Linked DNA regions of Homo sapiens: region 1 is linked to region 2. The links are contacts of gene promoters, found by promoter capture Hi-C in blood cells and fetal thymus (Javierre and others, 2016). All regions are on one chromosome and are shown on one strand. The core of a region is centred on a gene start or on the middle of the fragment in contact, and the rest is flanking DNA. Distances in the headings are between cores, read along the strand shown. Region 1 has its middle 71 kb from the start of HMG20A. Region 2 holds the start of RCN2 (reticulocalbin 2).

What was found. The method cuts DNA at HindIII sites, captures the fragments that hold promoters and counts their contacts. A CHiCAGO score of 5 or more calls a contact.
Region 1: a contact is called between a fragment that was not itself captured here and the fragment with the promoter of RCN2 in region 2, in 2 of 17 cell types (monocytes and non-activated CD4 T cells). The highest score is 6.0, in monocytes.

The regions. Positions count from the first base shown.
Region 1 is chr15:77,488,819-77,494,033 of GRCh38, forward strand. It overlaps a transcript of HMG20A not described here. Among named protein-coding and RNA genes, the nearest start is that of HMG20A, 71 kb to the left of the region's middle. The HindIII fragment of the contact is 9,764 bases long and covers 1-5,215 here.
Region 2 is chr15:76,928,943-76,933,907 of GRCh38, forward strand. RCN2 (reticulocalbin 2) reads left to right here and starts at 2,807. Exons shown (of 7, transcript NM_002902.3): 1 at 2,807-3,043; 2 at 3,419-3,524. The coding sequence starts at 2,900. RefSeq lists a silencer at 2,500-3,249. The HindIII fragment of the contact is 17,303 bases long and covers 1-4,706 here.

The DNA of each region.
Region 1 (5,215 bases), core at 2,487-4,986, 560 kb after region 2:
GGTATTATTTTGTGAAACTTACACTTCAGATACAGTCATATGTCTACATACACTTTTAATGTAAAATGTGTTTCTTACCATGGGATCACAATAAAGATAGTCAATGACTGTTTTATTACCTCTGAAATTGGACAACACTGCTGGGTTCAGGTCTGGATTCTGCTGCTTTCCTCTTACGTGACCTTAGGCAAGTTGCATAAACCACTGTATGACTTAAGTTTTCTCATCTGTAACATAGTGATATTTATCATTTCTGTCCTGTAGAGTTTTTATGTAGATTAGTCAATCCATGTAAAACACTTAGAATAGTGCCTCTCATAGAGTAGAAGACACTTAAATATAAGTTGTTATAATTTGTGGAAGACTAAAGGGAAAAGAGAAATAACAGACATATACCATAGGCCACTCTGCTGTGCTTTTTATGTAAATTATGTAATTCCACAACTTTACAGAGTAGGACTACTGTACTCATTTTTACAGTAAGTAAATTAAGACACAGATCTGATAAGTGACTTGTGCAGTTACAGAACAGGGAACAGGTAGAGAAATGGTTTATATCCAGATAACTGTGGCTTTACATTCCACTATAGCCGTACTGTCTTAGAGATAACTAATGAGAGTGGCATGAGTTCAAAGCCGTAGCATGGTATGGTGGGTCTGAGAACTGGAATTAGACCTATTCAACAATATTTGTTGAATATCTTTCTTGCGTTAGAAATTGTTCTGGGTCCTAGTCCCCATAGAGCTCTTCCCCTTGCTGGGGAAAAAGAGACTACAAACAAGTAACCTAACAAACTCATCTCAGCTAATTACCTAGATAAGAAGAAATGATATAAGCTAGGATAGAGAAAGGCCTTTCTGAAAAAGTATCTTCTGAAGAAAGACAAAATTGATTTGAAGGAGCCAGCCCGGTGAAGGGCTGAGGGTATACAAAGGCTGAAATCCTGAGGCAGGAATGAACTCTGGAATTTCAAGGCATAGAAAAAGCTGGTGAGGCTGGAGCAGAGTAAACGAGAGGCAGAGTGGCTTTGAAGTTGCAAGGCAGGCAATAGCAAGATCATGTAGATCCTCAGAAGTGTCGTAAAGAGTTTGCAGTTTGTCATAAGTGTAATGTGAAGAGAGTTCTACACAACTGAGTGACAAGATCTGATTTCTGTTTTTAAAGGGTCACTCTAGGCCGGGCGTGGTGGCTCATGCCTGTAATCCCAGCACTTTGAGAGGTGGGAGTGGGCAGACCACTTGAGGCCAGGAGTTGGAGACCAGCCTGGCCAACATGGTGAAACCATGTTTGTATTTTTCTACTAAAAATACAAAACAAAATTAGCTGGACGTGGTGGCGCGCATCTGTAATCCCAGCTACTCAGGAGTCTGAGGCATGAGAATCCCTTGAACCCAGGAGGTGGGGGTTGCAGTGAGCCAAGATTGTGCCACTGCACTCCAGCCTGAGTAACAGAGCAAGACTCTGTCTCAAAAAATAAAAAGTAAAATAAAATAAAGGGTCACTCTGGCTGCTGTATAGAGAATTGTGGGGTGGGCAAGAGAAGAATCAGAGAGACTAGGAGAAGGCTGGCATAGGAACCCAAGTGAGAAATGACAGTGGCTTAGCCTAGAGTGGTGGGAAAAGGCAGATTAATTCAGGATATAGTTTGGGAGTATAATGGACAGGAATTGCTGAGGAGTGGGATGTGGAGAATGAAAGAAAAAGAAGAATGACTCAGTTTTTCCTGGGCACAGTGGCTTACGCGTGTAATCCCAGTACTTTGGGAGGCCAAGGCGGGTAGATTTCTTGAGCCCAGGAGTTCAAGACCAACCTGGGCAACGTGGTGAAACCCCATCTCTATAAGAAAAAGAAGAAGAATGACTCAGTTTTTTTGGCTTGGAAAACTGGGTAATGGAGAGAGGTGCCATGGCCTGAGATTGCAGACTTAAGTATGAAACATCACGGAAGAAAAATCAAGGATTTGTTTTTGACTGGCTAAACTTGAAGTCCCAACAACAGATGAGCCCCTGGGCAAGACACACATCTCCCTGCTATCAGTTAAAAAGTTCCTTTCAGTTCCTAAAAGTCTGTGGTTCCTTGAGATTCTAAGTTCAGGTCAGTGTTTGCTAACATTCCTTCTATCCTCAGCGCATGTGCACACATGTAGATCCAGTTACGTTGTGCGTTGAACTGTGAAATTAAGGAATGGTCTCCTTTTTAATTCTTGACGCTTCTTAGGAAAAGAATTTTTAAAACTTGCATCTGCATTTGTTTAAGATTGACATAAAGCAGCTGAATGTTCTAGGATATAAAAATCATGCCATAACCTGACCATTAGAAAATCCTGGGGCAAGAAATGGAAAGCGTCTGCTTAAAAGAGACTGGTCAAAAATATATTTGGCATCATTCAAAGAAGGGTAATGTGAGAAGACATCACTGATACAGTCAGAAGGTTTAAAGACTCAGCAAATGGGCTCCTGTGAGGGGTGCTTTTGCTATCTTCAAGGATAGAAGTCAACTGAAGGCAGCTGGGTCCAGGCACTGGAATGTAAGACAACAACCTATTTTTCTTGGGGCCGGTGGATTTTTGAAGTAGACTTATGTTATATTTATCAAAAGAATTTCTTGGTTTAAAGGACAAACTAATATAGTAATTATGGATTTTATTCATCCCTCAGAAGAATGAGTATTTTAGATACATTCATTTTTTCAAGCATTTCCAAGTACTCACTATGTGTTTTGGGTGTAAAGTTGAGGAAGTCCCTCTCCACTGGAAGCCCACAATGTAACAAAAAATAGATACAAAAGCTAACTACAATAGGGTCTGATAAATGATCAAACGGCTGTGAGCGCAGTATTCTGGAAAACACAAAGGAAAAATTCAGTGGTTTTGCTTGGGGGAAGGCAAAAGAGCTTTACCAGGATAACATTTTGAGCTGGGCCTTAGAAAAAGAGTAGTTCCTTAAGATAAGCTAGAAATAGACCTAGAGATAGAAGTACATTTTTGGTGTACTCAAGTAATTCAGCGTGACTGGAACACAGGTTATATCCAGGGCACTGACCAAAAAGAAAGATAGTGAGGTGTTCTGAAAATGGATTGTAAATGGGCCTTGAATGTCAAGCCAAGGGTTTTAGCTTTTGTTTTGCAGGCAGAGGGAAGGCCTCAAGGCTGTTTTTGCAAGGCAGTGACATAAGGAAAACTACACCACAGCCTCTCAACCATTTTTCTGCCACGAGCTGCTTTGGCAATCTGGTAAAGTCTATGGACCCTTCTAGGAATGTTTTCTAAGTGCATAAAATACAAATAAAATTACAAAGGAAATCCACTATATTAAAATATAGCTAACAAAATATTAACAATGTGTTATGTAGGAATACCTGTGCTTCTTGATAAAGCATTAAATAACATGATCTAGTTCTAATAATGACCATAATTTTAAAGTAGTAGTGACCATAAATAATATTTCAACATCTGCAATGTCTATAATATAGTATGAAAATATCTGTGATCTTGTTGGTGGCAAAGTCACAGGTCCTGCCAATACTACTGGGGCTTGTTGCCAATGTTTATAATCAAAAGAAATGCAAATTTTCAATTAGAGGTTTGTGAAAATCAAAATGTAATTTCCCCCCATCCATTATTGTGGTCCTTAGCATAAATACTCTTGAATTCAAGGCAGTATGGAGATAGACTGGTTAGGAGACTGTTAAAATAGCCAGGATGGAAGGTAAGAAGAGCATGCAGTCGGGGGCTGGGTATGGTGGCTCACACCTTTTGGGAGGCTGAGGCAGGAGGATTGCATGAGCTCACAAGTTCAAGACCAGACTGGGAAACATGGTGAGATCTCATCTCTATAAAAAAAAAATTTTTAATTAGCCAGGCATGATGGGGCTCCAAGATACTTGGGGGGCTGAGGTGGGAGGATTGCTGGAGCCCGGGAAGTCGTGGCTGCAGTGAGCCATGTTCATACCATTGCACTCCAGCTTGGGTGACAGAGCAAGACTCTGTCTCCAAGGAAAATAAATAAATAAAGAAGAGGAAGAAGAAGAGCATGCAGTGGGGATGGAGTAAAGGAGCAGAGGAGATTAGAGACATTTGGGAGTTTGACTTGGTTCCTCCCAAAGCTCAGTGAGGAATTCTTCAAGGAGGAATTTTGGGTAACTGTGGTCTGGTGGGGCGGGTTCACCAGGAAGGCAGTGTAAATACCCTTTAGGCAGCTCTCCATATGCAGTCTACTTTCATTACTTGGTTCAACTAATATGCATTACCCTCTGGAGCAGGCAATAGGAATATAGCAAAACAGGTAACAATTCTTGCTTTCATGGAGCCTAGTATCTAGTGGAAGAAACGTGATTAAACAAACTTAAGTAGATGTGATGTTGCCATGTGGTATCAAATGCAGGAAAAGAGTAGTAGTAGCGTGTGTCAGCATATTGGCAGGGAGTGGGCAACTTTTTTCGATGGTGGGGTCAAGGAAGGCCCCTTCAAGGAAGTGACACTTAAAATGAAAAACCAGTAGGACTTAGGGAGAGTCAGGAAAAGAGCACAAAAACCAGCTTTCATTGGGGATTTAGAGGAGCTGAAAGAAAACCAGGGACCTGGAGCAGGGAAATGTAGGGGAAAAACAGCAAGAGATAGGAGAGAGGCCATGTGCGGTCTTATCACCAGCCCAAGGATCTGGGATAGTCTCCTCAGTGCAGGGGGAAGTCACTGAAGGTTTCAGAAAGGGAAGTGACATCATCTAGTTTGTGGTTTTAAAAACTTATTCTGACTACTCTGTGAAGCATTGAAATAGGGAGCTAAATTGTGGCTGTGGCTATAATCCCTCCAGAGGTGGTGGTATTATGGACTAAGGGTGTAGCAGTGAAGAATGATGTGGGGAAGAGGATGGAATACAGCCATTTTGGTGGTGGAAGGAACAAGATGAGTGACGGATGAGAGGGAGGCAGGAGGGAGAGAGCACCTACAGTGATCTTGTGCTTCACATGGATGGTCCAGATACCAGTTACAGAGACAACGACTAGAAGAGGAGCAGACTGGGGCAGGGGAATGGCTGGAAATCAGACAGCCTTGTGGGAATGTTTATTTGAGATGCAAGTGTTAAGTCAGCAGATGTAGGTGTTAAGTAAGCATTTATATTGACAATTCTAGAGCTTAAAAGGCGGGCCTGGACTTGGAATGACTTTTACCAAAGACTTCCAAGGAGACTTTTTTTATTAGAACTTTTCTCCCAG
Region 2 (4,965 bases), core at 1,557-4,056:
TTACATTGAATTTCTTGAAAGTACTTCTAATAGGTTAAAAGATTTTGTGACTACTTACACATTCAGATACTCCTTGGAAATGAAAAGATTTTTAAGGCATTATAATACACCCACCCACCTACACATGTTCTTGTCACCTTCTAAGACTCCACCATAACCCTGGAATTCTCACATTTCCTTCTCCCCTCAAAAGACTGACAAAAGATTAAACAGCCAACAAAATCCCCCTAATTGCATGGTCATTCAGTCTAAGTTGTTCTCCCATTCACTGCCTTATAGTCTGTTCTTTTGTCTTGTGTTTTCCATCTGTGCAAAGCTGCAGTCTCATTGAGTTTGTTGGCTTTCCCACTTAAGTTGTTTATTGTACCAAATCTCATTCATTCTGGTGGAAATCAGCCTGTAACACAAGGGTCCATGCCATATATGTTAAATATTGCTTTGTTTTTTAAGCCACTGCTTATTGTAACACACATCTTACCAAATTCAAAAAGCAAGAAATCTACAAATCTTTCTTTCAATAGTTTCAAAGTTAACTTTATTACCCATAATACATACTTCTAAAAGAATGCCAGAATAGCTGAATTCATACATTTCACAAAAATTTATTGAGTTCCTCTTTTTTGTAGGTGCACTAGGAGAAATCACACAGTTCCCTACCTCAAGGCTCTCACAGCAAACAAATCTAAAAAAATGATTGAACTGTATACTTAACATTTGTGTACTTTAGGTAAATTATACCTCAATAAAAATATAAATAAAACCAATTTTGCTATATGCTATGGGCTTTTATAGGTCAAGAAAATTGATCTTTGGATTCTCATAACACATTTTTTTAAACAGGCTACTTATTTTAGATATTTATTTTTCCCCGAGTAGAATGGATTAATTACAAGTAATGACATTGGATCAGTCTTGCCTCTTTTAAGCATAGGCCTTTACTGTAATCTGCTTCCAAACAATCCCAATAAAATCGTTGATTTTAAGAGTCAAAAAGTTGCTCAGAGCCTTCTTCAGGGACTCTTAACTTTTTCTGCCACATGGATCCTTTGAAACTCTGATAAAAGCAAAGCTATAGACTTCCTCCCTGGAAATATACACATGCACCAAGATTTTGGGATAAACACACCACTGAAAACCATGCAGGGACCACTTAGGAACCCAAAGATCTCAAATTAAGATCCACTGAGATAACACAATCCTTTTCCTCCAGATGAAAGCAATAGACCCAGGGAGCGAAAACAGCCTGTTTAGGGGCTGAAGACAGAACCCAGCCTTCTGATACTGCTTACTCCACTGTCTCTTTAGATATCATTAAGTTCCCTTGGCCCCCAAAACTCCCATCTGTGGATCCCCTGAGTTTAGAAGAACTTCCACAGTACCTTGTAGCCTACCTTTTATAACTGGAGTCACGCCGGAAGCTGGTCAAAGTTTACCTTTTACTTATTGGAGAACAACAGGTACAAAGCAGAGTTTCTTATATTAAATTGGGACATTTTTCTCTTTTTTTCCTCAAAACCGAGAATGGAAGTGAAAATTAAAATCCAGCAATAAAGGGTTTTCTTTTTAGTTTAATGAAATCAACTCTAAAATTTGCTTTTATTTATATTCTGAAATTTAAAACTTTGTTCTTCGTTGATCTTTATAACATTGGAAAGATTGAACTTACACTTTGCTCTGTGAATCTTTCAATGGTTTGTGACCAAACCATAAATTTCAACCCGACCCAGGAAATTTCTGCGACTTGTGCCCACCCAGTTTTGCAGTTTGGAACAGAATTCTTGCTCCCAATCCAAATAGAGACTGAGAGAAATGAAAGAGGACCCAGAAAGCCTTTTCTTCTCTGTGAAAGGCCTGATCCTAAGTGGCGCAATCAATAAAGAAAAGGGTTCAAGGTGCAGCCTACAAATTTCTTAGAGTTTAATGTGTTCAGGTTGAGGTGGAGAAATTACATAAACCTGTGAATAGACATGGAATAGAAGCCATGTGTATATGCATTCTGTCCCTAAAGGTTTTGCTAGGTACTTACTAAGCTATTCCTTCTGTGCAATCATCTTTCGTTTTTCTACTTGTATGGATGAAAGCCTACCTTCACTGAACACTTCACCTTATGTGCCAGCTATTGTTCTAAACCCATTACATTATTTAATCTTCACGACAATTCTTTAAGGTAGTCTTATTACTATGCTCATTTTATAGATGAGCAAACAAGTTTTCAGGGGTCAAGAAATTTGAGCAAGTTCACATTAACTTGTAAATCACGAAATTGAGCATCAGATACAAGCATCTGGCTGCACTTCCTGAGTTTGTACGTCCTACTCTCATAAAATAGATACATTGAAGACTGAGAAAGAATACTGTTGGCCGATTCCTCAGGCAATAATTTTTTCGATATTGTATTGTTGTCTCAGAAACCTCCAGCCTCTCTCATTGATGGACGGTAGGAGGGGCACATGGAGTGGACCAGGAGTGGGCAGGAGTGGGGTGGGGGCGTGCTTTTAGAAGCGTTTCGGGGGAACGACAAGGCGCGGGTCGTAGAGGTCTACCCTCTCTGCAGTCCCAGCATGGCTCCTGGAGCTCTCTGGGCGGCCGCTGACCCCGACATCGCGGCGGCCCGCCCCCAGCGCCGCGCTGCCCAATCAGCGGCGCGGCCTGGTGCCCCGCCACTCCGCGCCGGCCATATAGGCCTCCTCCTGGCGCGCCTCCGCACCGCATTGGTGGACCGGCCCCCAGCCCGTCCATGGGCGTTGTGGCCGCCACCGCAGGTTCCGCCTCCCGTTCCCTCCGCCCTCAACGTACGTCGCACCGCCTCTCTGTAGCCGCCCGCGGAGCATCGCAGCCGGCCCGGGCCCCCGCCAGCCTCCCTCCTCGCGTCCCTCGGTGTCCTCCGCGGGCCGGCGCGATGCGGCTGGGCCCGAGGACCGCGGCGTTGGGGCTGCTGCTGCTGTGCGCCGCCGCGGCCGGCGCCGGCAAGGCCGAGGAGCTGCACTACCCGCTGGGCGAGCGCCGCAGCGACTACGACCGCGAGGCGCTGCTGGGCGTCCAGGTGAGGCGGCCAGGCCGGTGCTGGGAGGGCCGGGCCTCGCACCGCGGCTGCCGCGGGCTTTGTCCCGGGACAAAGGGGGGCGGCCGGGCGAGGCCTGGCAGGGGCGGCCTGACAATGGGGGCCGGGCGGCGCGGCACTCGCTCTCTGGGGGTCCTGGGGCCTGGAAAGCCTGAGGAGATAGCACGGCCCAAGAGCTGGATCCCTTCTACCCCTCAGATCATGGAGGGTGTGTAGGGGGTAGGGGCCTTGAAGTGCAGGTGCGGGTCACCCCGAAACCCTTTGGCAAGGGGGTCTTCTAGTAGCCCTGTTTTTCTCCACCATTTTGCCCCACTGATAGTAATGCTTGGCCCTCCTGTGTGTCGCTTCCCCCTAAAGGAAGATGTGGATGAATATGTTAAACTCGGCCACGAAGAGCAGCAAAAAAGACTGCAGGCGATCATAAAGAAAATCGACTTGGACTCAGATGGCTTTCTCACTGAAAGTAAGGACTGCCCTACACGACTAACAATGGAGACAAACACAAATATGTTAAGCAGCGGTGTCTGCTGAATGTATAGATTGCTAGTGTCCCAAGTTGGAAGTCCTGTGAGAAGGAGAAAAGGACATGGAGAATAGGCTTTATACTTACAAATCTTTAGACACTGAGAACCAAGTAAAACTCGGTGCTTTCTCCAGTTATATATAAACATCATTGACCCTGTACTCTATGTGGAAGTCACACCTTGAGACACCCTCTTTCTCACGTGACTTTTGTTAGTGTCAACAATATGATTTATTTTAGAGAAATATGCCCCAAAACTTTAAGGCAGTAAATGATTTATCGCTCTTTTGATATATGCTTCATTTAAATTTTAGGAATTTGCTTCTTTTTTTAAGCAAGTAGAAAAAGACCTGTTGCCTGTGAATTACGTTTATTATAACATTATACCAAAATGTTAGAGCTGGTAGGGGCCTTGGGATCATCTTGTCCACATCACTTTGTAGAGATGAAGAAATGAAGCACAGGGATAAGTGCCTTCTACAAATAAGTGGCAAAGCTGGACTAGAATCCAGGTATCCTGCTCTTAATTCAGGTTTTAATATCCTTCAGTTAAAAAAAAAAATCTGATGCTCTCAGGTAAATTCTCTAGTCAGAAATGAAATGCACAGACTATTAAAAGAATGTTCTAAATAAATTGCTGTGCAGTTGTCTCTCCCCATTGTTCAATTCAAATGATGTTCCCTGTCAGCGTTCCAAGTGGGTCCTCAGAAAAATTCAGGTTGTTATTGTGACTCTTAAGTTAGCTGTTTTTCTGTAACTCTCATTTAAATGCTGTTCACCATCAAGGAATTAAGTTGCTGGAGACAATTAAAAACTGGTAAATTTAAGATGTGCTGTCAATGACATATTCACATTGGAACCCTCTGGAAGATTAAGGGCTTTTTTCTTCCACTTAGTTAGACAATAATAACAAGACCTTTGGTCTCTGATTATCCAATCTAAGAATAAGTCAATCTTTGGTTATACTAGAGTAATCAAAGAACACAACACGTTGATTTGGAAGACTGCGTGGTACCTATCTGTCAAGACCTAGATATGTTCAAATATTTAATAGTAAGGTTTTAAGAAGTTTAAACTTAGAAAAGTTTTAGTCCAAATATTCATTATACAGATGAGAAGAAAAGCTTGAGATGGTAAACTACCCCCTGATGGCAAAGCTGAAGTGTGAACCCACATTTCTGATCCCTGTTCCATTCTGTTTTCTTCTATGCCATGGTGATCTCTTTAAATAAACTAGAAGAAAGATTCATGGTGCTTACGAAAGCCTTCATTCTACTTGAGGACCCTTAAGATAATTTTGGCAATTTGCTCTTTGAGGGCCAGGTCTGGAATCAGATGTTAAGAGGTAGCAAAACTCAGTAGGAGTTGGCTTTGAAGCCAG